Regions from separate parts of the Homo sapiens genome. Here region 2 is linked to region 1. The links are contacts of gene promoters, found by promoter capture Hi-C in blood cells and fetal thymus (Javierre and others, 2016). All regions are on one chromosome and are shown on one strand. Each heading gives the region's core, a stretch centred on a gene start or on the middle of the fragment in contact. The rest is flanking DNA. Distances are from core to core; before and after follow the strand shown. Region 1 holds the start of GALNT4 (polypeptide N-acetylgalactosaminyltransferase 4). Region 2 overlaps CEP290 (centrosomal protein 290).

Region 1 (5,678 bases), core at 1-2,500:
CCCCACACTTCCATTCCTGTGTCATACGTTCCAAGGTACTGAAAATATTTCTTGCTGACAGCAAACAGTCCTCCAGCCATGGTAGGTGATCTGATGGGGTCAATTCTTGATATCCGCCTGTCCCTTTCCTGTTTGGGGACAGAATGCCACTGAAATGTTAAACGCCAGTCAAACCCACCAATCATGGGCTCCCCTATCTGCATATAGAATTCAAAAGTATTCCAATCAATTGTGTCTATAACAGGACACACAACTGCTGTTTCATCTCTCCCAATCCTTTCCAAAAGCGGTTCCAGCCAACCGGAATTACACTCACAGTGACAATCCAGGAAAGTGAGGACGTCCCCAGTGGCGAAAGTGGCCCCAATCAGACGGGCCCTAACCAGCCCCTCTCGCTTATTGGTCCTAATCAAGCGTACTCTATCAAGATTGCTGATGTAAGTTTCAAGTTGTGTCTTCAAATAAACTCTGTCACTCAAGTCATCCACCAAGATGATCTCTTTCAAAAGAACTGCAGGAGAAGTTTCTAAAACACTGTGAATGGTACGGAGCAAAGTCGACCAGGCTTCGTTATAGAAAGCAATGATAACAGAGGTGGTAGGAAGTGTCCTATAGTTGAACTTCTGGGACTTACACTCATACATTCTTTTATCCTCTATGTGTCGATGCAGGGAAATCCTGTCACTGAGGTAAATATTGATGGCGTATCTCTCAATGAGTTCTTCTTGCTGCTTCAGTTCATCCTCGTTGAGCTGGAGTTTGCTGGCTTTCCCCCACTCCCCAAGTGCACGGGAATCTGCAGGGGGCTTCTTATAAAGCGGTCGAGACAAATCCTCCGTATTTTTCTGGAGGTCTGAGAGCCTTCTTGACCCCAGCTCCCTGGCACGGCCGGCTCCTGCGGAGGCATGAAAAGTAGAGACCAAGAGCTCCACGAAGATATAGGCCACTGTTAAAAACGCCAGCAGCAGGCAGCTCTTGCCTGCCCAAGTCCACCTCACCGCCATCCGGATTCTCAGGGCTGAGGCGCAGACGCGGCCACCAAGCCACCACGCAGGGGAAGGGCGGCGGAACCCACAGCTCGAGCTCAGGTACTTCCCAGCAGGTTCTTCCTTTCATGCAGGCGCTAGGCTCCTTTCCAGCCACCCAGGCTTTCCAGGGGTCACCTGAGCCCTCTCGGTCCTCGGCCTCCGGCACAGCCCAACTCCTCTCTCCCTACTTCCTCCTGCTCGGCTCACAACTTTTCACAAACTCTCCAGCCAACACCCCACCCTCCCCGGGCCGAGGAGAAACCCCTCCCCTTCCCACTCACTCCTCCTGGTGGTTAGTTTGCGAAAGTCGTCCGCCAGGCCCAGACCGCTGGATAGGAGGCTCTTGGCCGGGCCGGGGGCTGGGGGCCGGGATGGCAGAGGGGGCCCTAGCTGCGCCCCGCCGCGCTGGGCCCTCGTCTCCGGGTGCTCTCAACCCTCATACAGGCCCTTAGCCGTTCTCCTAGGGACCCTGCCCGGACAGGAGGAAAGGTTTCCGGCCCATGGAGTTTAGTCTCATTACAAAAGCAAAACAAGAATAAGACTTACCAAGTTGCTTGCCGTTGGGGCTGAGGTCCAAGGAGGTGATCGCAGCTTTGTGGCCTTTGAAATAACGCTCCAGAACGGGGTCCTCCTGGAAAGGAAAGTTGTCAAGTTTTGAAAGCCGCCGCAGACCTCGAATTCTGGCGGCTGGGATCCACGCTGCCACTTCCCCGGAGTCCGGCTTGGGAATGGCCACCCAGGCGGCGGCTTGGCTGGGCGGCGGGGCCGGGCAGCAGCCCACCCACGGGCGCGGCGCCCAGTCCTGCTACAGGGAGACGCCGGCGCCAGCTCTCCCCGCAGAGCCCGCAAAACGCTCTGTTCGCGCTTCCCAGAGTCCAGCGCATCGCAGGAACCGCGGCCCCTTTGAAATGCACGTTCCCGGGCCCCGCCCGCTGGCCCAAGGCAGGCAGGTGCGAGGATGCGCCTCGGCTTTGGTACTTTTTTTTTTTTTAATACTTCCTAGGTGATTCTGACGCAGGCGCTCCACGGAAACCCTCCGAGAATTCTGGGGGCCGTGGGGCCGCCCAGCTCAGTCCGGAGCTCCGGAACTCGGGGAAGAGCGTCCGGGAGCCGGGTCTGGGTTCCGCACTCCGTCCGCCCCGATGGCAGAGAGTGAGATACGGACGCCCCGGGACGAGGGGCTCAGGACCCGGCTACGGACACCTGCCTCCATCTCCCTCCAGGTGCGGCTTCGGCCCGGACCTGGCCCCGCAGCCCGCGGGACAGGCTCCAGGGAGGGACCCCCCCCACCTCCAACCCGTCCTTACCGTGGCTGAGGCCATCGGGGGAGTGGTCGGCCCAAGGCTCCTGTGGGTGGGGGAACCCGGAGAGGGGAGGGGAGAGGATGGGGAAGGAGAGGGGACCGTGCGGCTCCCGGAACCGTCTGCCCAGAGCGGCAGCGCCTCCCGGTCACTACAACAACGGCGGCCCAGTCAAACCCCGCGCTCCAGGCATGGCCAGCCGAGCCCCGAGACACCGCCAGCCCTGTAAAGAGAGGACGGGAGGTATGCGCCGGGTCAGCTGTGGCCACACACCAAGCCATGTTAACTAACACTCGCGTTCTCCCTGGTTTGATGTCAGGAAGTGGGGTAGTAACCAGGACTGGAATAAGAGCGATGAATGGAAGGGCGTTGTGAGCCTGTGATCGATGCGATCAGAGTTCTATTACGTTTTAAAGAGACAGCACCCGTGACGTTTAAGGTGATCCCCTACCGCTTATTTTGTTGACGTAAAGCTTTGACATGAAGAGGGGCAGCTTGCTAGTTATTAATATACTAAAAGGAACTAAATCCCCTGAGGGCAGATTTGAATTTATTTAACCACTGTTTTCCACACAGTGCCCTGCAGGATATTGATATAGTTGCTGGATGTGCGTGATGAATGAATGAGTGAATGAATGAATAAATGTTGTGCATGCACTTAATAATTTTCTGCGATATGTTTCCATTCTCATCTGCTTATTTGCGTATACCTTAGAGCACTAAACTTACACAGCTGGATACTTAAAGTCTTTAGGAAGACTTGGAAACATGGTTTTTTTTGTTTGTTTTTTGTGAGACCACGTTTCTACAGCAGGCTTTGTTACACATAGTATCATTTGTGCTTCAGCCAAACAATGAAGTTGGTAGAATTACAAAATGTTTTCAATGTTTCCAAGTTATAAACTTGATTCCTAGATATTGGTCTTAGAGGTCACACAGAGACAGTTCTTCTAATTCCAAGTCCATATCCTTTTTTTTTTTTTAACCCTGCCTCAAAGCGTGATGTTCTGAGCTGAAAATTACATATAGTGTAAAGATCCTTAGCAACATCAAAGGGCATGATAGAACACAGCTGGTAAGACATGTGTTTTATGCAAATGAAAGGTATGCTACACACCTTAATTACAGATTCCCTAGTTGTCTAGTGATTGAGTTTAATTTTATTGAATATGGTACTTAACAACTAAACAGGTAGGCTTTAGATTACAGTATTAGTTAATTTAAGTATACACTTGTTAAATATCTGTTGTATGTTTGGCCTTGAGGGACACAATGATGACTAAGATATTTCCCCTACCTTCAAGAACTCAGCAATCTAGGGTTGGTGAGTCTCATGCTTTAGCATTTGTAATGTTGATTTGGGGGCTCCATTTCCAGAGATGCTGAATCAACATATACAAGGTGGGATCCAGGGCCCTTCTGATGTAACAAGCTCCATAGATGATTACTATGGGAGTCTCAGCTGTCTATGTTGAGAAACACTGCATTAGTCTAGGAGATGATATGTTAAGAGTGTTGATATCAGCAACTTGTCAGCAAACTGTTGCAGGACTCTTAGTTTTGCTACATATTACCAGTTTAGGCTTGATTTATTTTAAAAGCCTGCCATGTTTAAAACTAATGCTGGATACTGGTGGGAATGTAAAATGATGTAGCTCTGTGAAAAAGTTTGTCAGTTCCTAAAAAGTTAAACATACAATTACCTTATAATCCAGCAATTTCACTGCTAGGTATATCCCATAAGTATTGAAAGCAGAGACTCCAACAGATGCCAGTGTTCAAAGCAAGCATTATTTACAATAGCCAAAAAGTGGATACAATCCTAGTATCCAACAGATGAATGGATAAACAAAATGTATGTGATATATACATATAAGGAAATATTATCCTGCCATAAAAAGAAATGAAATTGTGATACAAGCTATAACATGGATGAACCTTGAAAACATTTTGCTAAGTGAATAAGCCAAACACAAATGAGCATATATTGTATGATTCCATTCATATGAGGTACCTAGAATAGGTGAATTCATAAGGACAGAAAGTAGAATAGAGGTTACTAGGGCTGGGGGTAAGGGAGACTGGGGAGTTACTGTTTAATGGGTGCAGAGTTTCTGTTTGGGATGATGAAGTTCTGGAAATAGATAGTGGTGATGTTTGCACAACATTGTGAATGTACTTAATGCCAGTGAATTGTACACCTAAAAAATGGGTAAAATGGTAAATTTCATTACAGGTATTTCACCCCAATAATAAAATAATAATGCCAGAAGCTGAAGAGTAATCAGGACCTCAGGATTACTCATAGGTATGTTACGTCTAATATTGGGCACAGGAGAAGCAGAAAAGGGAAGAAGTTGGAGATTTAGAAACTAGCTCACAAGAAGAAAAAATATAGATTTTTATTTAAGTGTTTTAGTAAAAGTTTAGCTTTTACTTTTTTTCTCAATTATCAAGAAACACATGTTTTAAATTTAAAAGATGGGAGGGAAACTACATATTAATCCTATTACCTAAAGTTGATCTTAAAAAATTTGTCACCTACTGATATGGTTTGGATTTGTGTCCCCACCCAACTGTCATGTAGAATTGTAATCCCCAGTGTTGGAGGAGGGGGCTGGTGGGAGGTGATTGGATCATGGGGGTGGATTTCTCCCTTGCTGTTCTGAGTGAGTTATCACGAGATCTGGTTGTTTAAAAGTGTGTAGCACTTCCCCCTTTGCTCTCTTCCTCCTGCTCCAGCCATGGAGCAGCCATGCTCTCTTCCCCTTTGCCTTCCACCATGTTTGTAAGTTTCCTGTGGCCTCCCCAGCCATACTTCCTGTACAGCCTGCAGAACCATGAGCCAATTAAACCCGCTTTTTTTGTAAATTACCCAGTCGCAGGTAGTTCTTCATAGCAATGTGAGAACGGACTAATATACCTACCTATGTTTTCACTACATGCCAGGACTTTTCTAAGTACCTTACAAATTTTGACATTTAGTGATCATAACGATCTTATTAGAGATGTGCTATTATTACCATTTCCGTTTTATAGATGAGTAAATTGATATGCAAAGACATTAAGTTACTTGCCCAAGGCACACTGCTAACTAGGAAGTGGCAGAGTTGAGATTTTTAGACACTCGCAGTCTGCCTCCAGAATCCACTCTCTCTTTTTTTTTTTTTTTTTTGAGACGGAGTCTCACTCTGTCGCCCAGACTGGAATGCAGTGGCGCGATCTCGGCTCACTGCAAGCTGCTCCGCCTCCCAGGTTCACGCCATTCCCCTGCCTCAGCCTCCCGAGCAGCTGGGACTACAGGCGCCCGCCACCAAGCCCGGCTAATTTTTTTTGTATTTTTTTTTTA
Region 2 (4,935 bases), core at 1,737-4,236, 1.4 Mb before region 1:
GCAGGAGAACTGCTTGAATCTGGGAGGCAGAGGATGCAGTAAGCGTTAAGCCGAGATCGTGCCACTGCACTCAGCCTGGGTGACAGAATGAAACTCCATCTCAAAAAAAAAAAAAAAAAATCTTTAGGAAAGATGAAAAATACTCTTTGGGAAAATGATAACGTTAAACATCACTCATTGATACATTATCCACAAGATGTCTCTTGCCTAGGACTTTCTAATGCTGGAGAGGATAGGACAGAGGACATGGAGAATGGAAAAAAATAAATTATCACCACACTAAATAGGCATAATTTTCTATAAAAAGTAACATAATCACCTCTCTTTGGCAAAAGCAGCAGAAAGCAAACTGATTATGATTACTTCTAAATAATATTGATAAACATGACTCATAATTTAGTAGGAATCCTGAAAGCTACTCAGAACAACGTTTTCATTTACTGAATGTGTCTCTATGAGCCAGCAAAAGCTTTTGAGCTAATAGAATTAGATCTTATTCTACTCCTGTGAAAGGATCTTAGATAAGAATAATCCAAAATCCATAAGCCTCTATTTCTGATGAGGAAGATGAACAAATCAGGAGCTTGTTCTGTCCTCAGTAAAAGGTATAGAGTTCAAGTGGCTGTAAGATAACTACAAAGGGTCTGGTCCATATTCACAGATTGTAACTTATGATATTCTACTCTAGTTTTTTTATTTTTTATTCTACATTAAATAAATTTATTCTACATTAAAATTCTACATTTATTCTACAATAAAAAATGATGAGAATTTACAGAGTGCATCCATGGTCCAGGAAGAGCCCTTAATATTTCAGCTACTGTTGGCTACATCCATTCCAAGGAACAAAAGCCAGGGACCATGGGAGAATAGTTTGTTCTGGGTACAGGGGTAAGAGAAAGGGATGGGCACTTAATGAGTGCTTCCCTCCTTTGATTACAATATTCTACCTGTTTCATGCTCCTTTTTCTCTTAGATGTCTGGTTAAAAGAGGTTTGATTCAGCTAAATCATGCAAGTGACCTAAGGAGAATGATCTAGATAATCATTCAGAAGTCATTCAGCCACTATAAATAGATAATATATTGTGTGTGTGTGTGTGTGTTATGTGGGAACAAAATATTTATAACTAAACTGAATGAATAATATGGATAATTATATCTCTGTTAAATTTATATAAATGCAGGCAAACTTTAATTAAAATCTGCCAAATCCCCCCAAACACAAAAATATTGAAGAAAAATGGCTAATTTCACAAGGTTCAAGAATCACACAAACTTACCTCCAGGTGTTCCAAGTTACTTGTTCTTTGAACAAGCATATTATCTTTTTGCAAGATGTCCCTGTACTTAGCAGTCAGTTCATTGTACTGTTTATTAGCCAGTTCTAGTTCAGACAAAGAAACACTATTATCTACAACTTTTTGGAGAGCTGCAATCTTGAAAATGGCCATTTCCTATGTAAATAAAGATACACTGAGTTATGCTGGTGTCTTTTTTTCTGGTCAAGCACTAGCCACTTTTGAGAAAGATAATACAACTTAAAGTAAAACGAATTTTAAAATCATTTTTAAAATATATGATTTCCCATGTAAGAAAAACATGCATTAACATAATTTCTTTCATATAAGAAATGTTACTTTGAAAATCTTAATCATAATAAAAATAAAATACTTTAATAACTCCTGTCATTGTAAAATAAAACTCAATTAATTTGAGAAAACATAACAAACAGCAGGAATATATCACTCGGAATTTATCTTTGGATGGCTTTTCTAAATTTCTTATGATCGGAAAACAACTTGCCTTTTAATAAATGGGAAAATTAGCATTATCACAGGTAACTTTCACAGCTTAGCTATTTATGCTTATTGTAAGTTAAACGGACTAGCTTTAATAACAAGAAAACTTTTTGTACACATGATGGAAACATTAGCGGGAGAGCTTCTATTATAGTTCTCTGTAATAAATAACATCAAGGACTTTAAGTTACTTGGTTCATGGTTCTACTCATCAACTATAGAACTATTCAAAGATATTCTATTATCAACACCAAAATGAAATGTCCAAACTTACAGTTCTCTTAAGTTGCTGTATAATAGGCAAACATTACATAGAAAAGTACAATAAAGAATGATGAAAGCTGAGAAGTGGTATAAGGAATAATCAAATTTATGAATGAGGAAGTAAAAAAACTTACGGTTGTAATTCATTCTGAAGTACAGTAACGATGGAAATATTTGTAATAGCGCTTCAGATCTCATTTTGGCAGCCTTTCTTCTCCATCTAAGTTAAGTACACACTATTCTATCTTACCCTTAAGATTCAGTTTCACTGTTCTGGGGGAAACAGGGGTAGATGAGATTCTATTTCCCATCTCTTAAGAATCTCCCTTTTTCTTGGCTCTTCAATTGTTGGGAGAAAAAAATCAAGTTCATGAGCAGGTAGAAGAGGAAGAAAACTAATTCTTTTCTCTTTCTATCTCAAACACTAACTGTATTTATAAAACTCTAACAAAAGTAGATTCTAAAAAAATCTAACACAAAAATAAGACATGAACATTTCCTTATTACATGTCTGAATAAATATCACTTATATTTATTAAAGAATTTCTTGATGCTCAGTATTAAGCTTTAGATCAAGCTGAAAATAGGTTTATTAGCCTGACATCACCCATTACAACCTTTAAAGTGGAAAGTAAAGAACCCAAGCCCATTTTAATTTCACTTTGAATTCTGTGTTCCTATGATCCTGTCCAAATTTAGTCATGAACATTGAACATTTACATGCTTAAAAATAAACTACAAGGTAAGGTATAAAACTAGGTGCAGAAGGGTATACATGTCATGTAACCTGTCTTGTCTTTGTTTATGTTTCCAAAAAGGAAACATGAGAAAGATAATAAGTTACCTACAGAGGGTGGAGCAGAATAATATGAAAGGCGTAAGACCAGAATTAAGATTTCTCTGATTAAATATTTTGCATATATAAATATTGTATATATTAAAATTCAATAAAGGAAAAAAATCCCTAAAATAAAAAAAATGAAAAACAAATGAGCCTAACTATATATCAAATGTATAACATAACCGCATGAAGACAATTATTTCAAGTAAGTGTAGAATACTTTGCCTATACATTCTCAGCAAGATATATTCTGAAGAAAATAAGACCTGAAATAAAACTTTAAACTATGTTTGGCAGCAGTGCTGTTGTTGTTACTATTAATATCAATTCAAGTATTATTTTTCAAATTATTGTATGTATATTGTAGGATAAAACAAATATTTTAATGTTAATAATAAAGGTTTTCTATGTAAGAAAAAAATACAAGTGCAAAATCAAAGAAGCTTAGTAAAAATCCGATACTATTTACTTACCCCATAATGTTATAATTAAACTGGAAATAACAATATGAACTCATGGTTTAAATATATACATATTTTTCTAACTTGTCTACTGAGAGACTAGTGGCAATGATACTCTGAGAGCAATGATGCCCAGTGGCCAGTTTTTGGTATCTAAATGCCTTCCCCACTAAAAGGAACCTGGGCTCTTTAAAGAAATGGTTTATTCCAAGTATGGGCATGAAGTATGTAGGTAAGTCTAAGACATCTTATGCTAGAAAACAAGTCAAGCTTTGAGGCTTCGTTCAAAAGACTAATGAATTTTTGTCAAGACAATATAAGAGTCAACTTTAAAGGACTCTCTTTGGCTAAAGTTGAGACAAAAGAATATGACTCCAACTAAAACACATGGAATATTTAAAAATCTGTGAGTCTAATCTGATACTTAAAAAAGAGAAAGCGGAGGGGACAAAAAAAGCAGGTAGTGCAGAGTACACCAAGTGTGTATTCTGAAAACTGGTAATTAAAGAGAAAAGCATTTATCTTGCCTTTGTAGTAGGAGCTAAACTTCAAGATAAACAAATAGCCTGGGCTAATGAGGAAACGCTATTTATTTTACAAAAGCATGTCTGTTAATAAATGTAAGTGCATAATATAACTAGAAAATTATGATGTTTGCAACTTTTAATAATTGGGTTAGGCAACAATCATCAGCAGATGCTAAAATCATTAGGACTGACAAATAATTTGTTATTTGTATGGTACCAAAATATCACCAGTTAGCTAAATTGCTTAATAATGGAGGTATATGGTTATCTTTTCTTCTTCTTCTTCTTCTTTTTTTCTTTTAAGAGAGAGACTCGCTCTGTTATACAGGCACATAGGCTGGAGATCAGTGGCACATGATCACAGCTCACTGCAGCCCCCAACTTCCTGGGCTCAAGCGATCCTCCCACCTCAATGTCCCAGGTAGCTGGGATTACAAGCATGTGCCACTACACCAAGCTAATTAAAAACAAACAAACAAAAAAAAAAACATTTTTTGTAGAGACGGAGTCTCACTATATTGCCTAGGCTGGTCTGGGCTCAGGAAATTTTCCTGCCTGGGCCTTCCAAAATGTTGGAATTATAGGCATGAGCCACCATACTTGGTCTGCTTGTCTTTTCCTTAACAGAGTAATCAATTACAAAACATGGAACAACCAGATACTCTTGAAGTGATGCAATATAAAGTATAGAACACTACTTATGAAGTATTCTTGCCAAAAATGTTTAAACCTGAATGTAACTTAGGGTTCTGACCTAACTTTTAGTAATACAAGGGACACAGGAACAAGTAAAATGACACACACACAAAAGTTAGATACATCTTCAAACATTTTTTGGAGAAAAAGAAAACCAAGGGGATTCTATATTAAAAAGATTTATGAGATGTAACATCCAAATGCTTATTCTTTGATCAAAAAATGTAAAAAATGTGACTATAATCAGGGTATTAGGCGATATTAGAAAATTACTGTCATTTTGTTAGGTATAATAAAGTTACTATGGTTAGTTAAAGAAAAAAGCCTTTTTCAAAAGGGTACATTA

Evidence for each region. Contacts are between HindIII fragments. The CHiCAGO score rates a contact against its expected background, and 5 or more counts as called.
Region 2: a contact is called between a fragment that was not itself captured here and the fragment with the promoter of GALNT4 in region 1, in 6 of 17 cell types (megakaryocytes, M0 macrophages, activated CD4 T cells and 3 more). The highest score is 7.1, in megakaryocytes.

The regions. Positions count from the first base shown.
Region 1 is chr12:89,523,546-89,529,223 of GRCh38, forward strand. GALNT4 (polypeptide N-acetylgalactosaminyltransferase 4) reads right to left here and starts at 1,251. Exons shown (of 1, transcript NM_003774.5): 1 at 1-1,251. The coding sequence starts at 1,004. POC1B-DUSP6 (POC1B-DUSP6 readthrough) reads right to left here and starts at 2,502. Exons shown (of 11, transcript NR_189589.1): 1 at 2,336-2,502; 2 at 1,575-1,659. POC1B (POC1 centriolar protein B) reads right to left here and starts at 2,502. Exons shown (of 12, transcript NM_172240.3): 1 at 2,336-2,502; 2 at 1,575-1,659. The coding sequence starts at 2,350. POC1B-GALNT4 (POC1B-GALNT4 readthrough) reads right to left here and starts at 2,717. Exons shown (of 3, transcript NM_001199782.1): 1 at 2,336-2,717; 2 at 1,575-1,659; 3 at 1-128. The coding sequence starts at 2,610. It also overlaps POC1B-AS1. RefSeq lists an enhancer at 968-1,177 and silencers at 1,268-1,647, 2,198-2,457. The HindIII fragment of the contact is 3,011 bases long and covers 1-2,800 here.
Region 2 is chr12:88,101,557-88,106,491 of GRCh38, forward strand. It overlaps CEP290 (centrosomal protein 290), which reads right to left. Exons shown (of 54, transcript NM_025114.4): 26 at 1,282-1,455. Among named protein-coding and RNA genes, the nearest start is that of CEP290, 38 kb to the right of the region's middle. The HindIII fragment of the contact is 719 bases long and covers 2,628-3,346 here.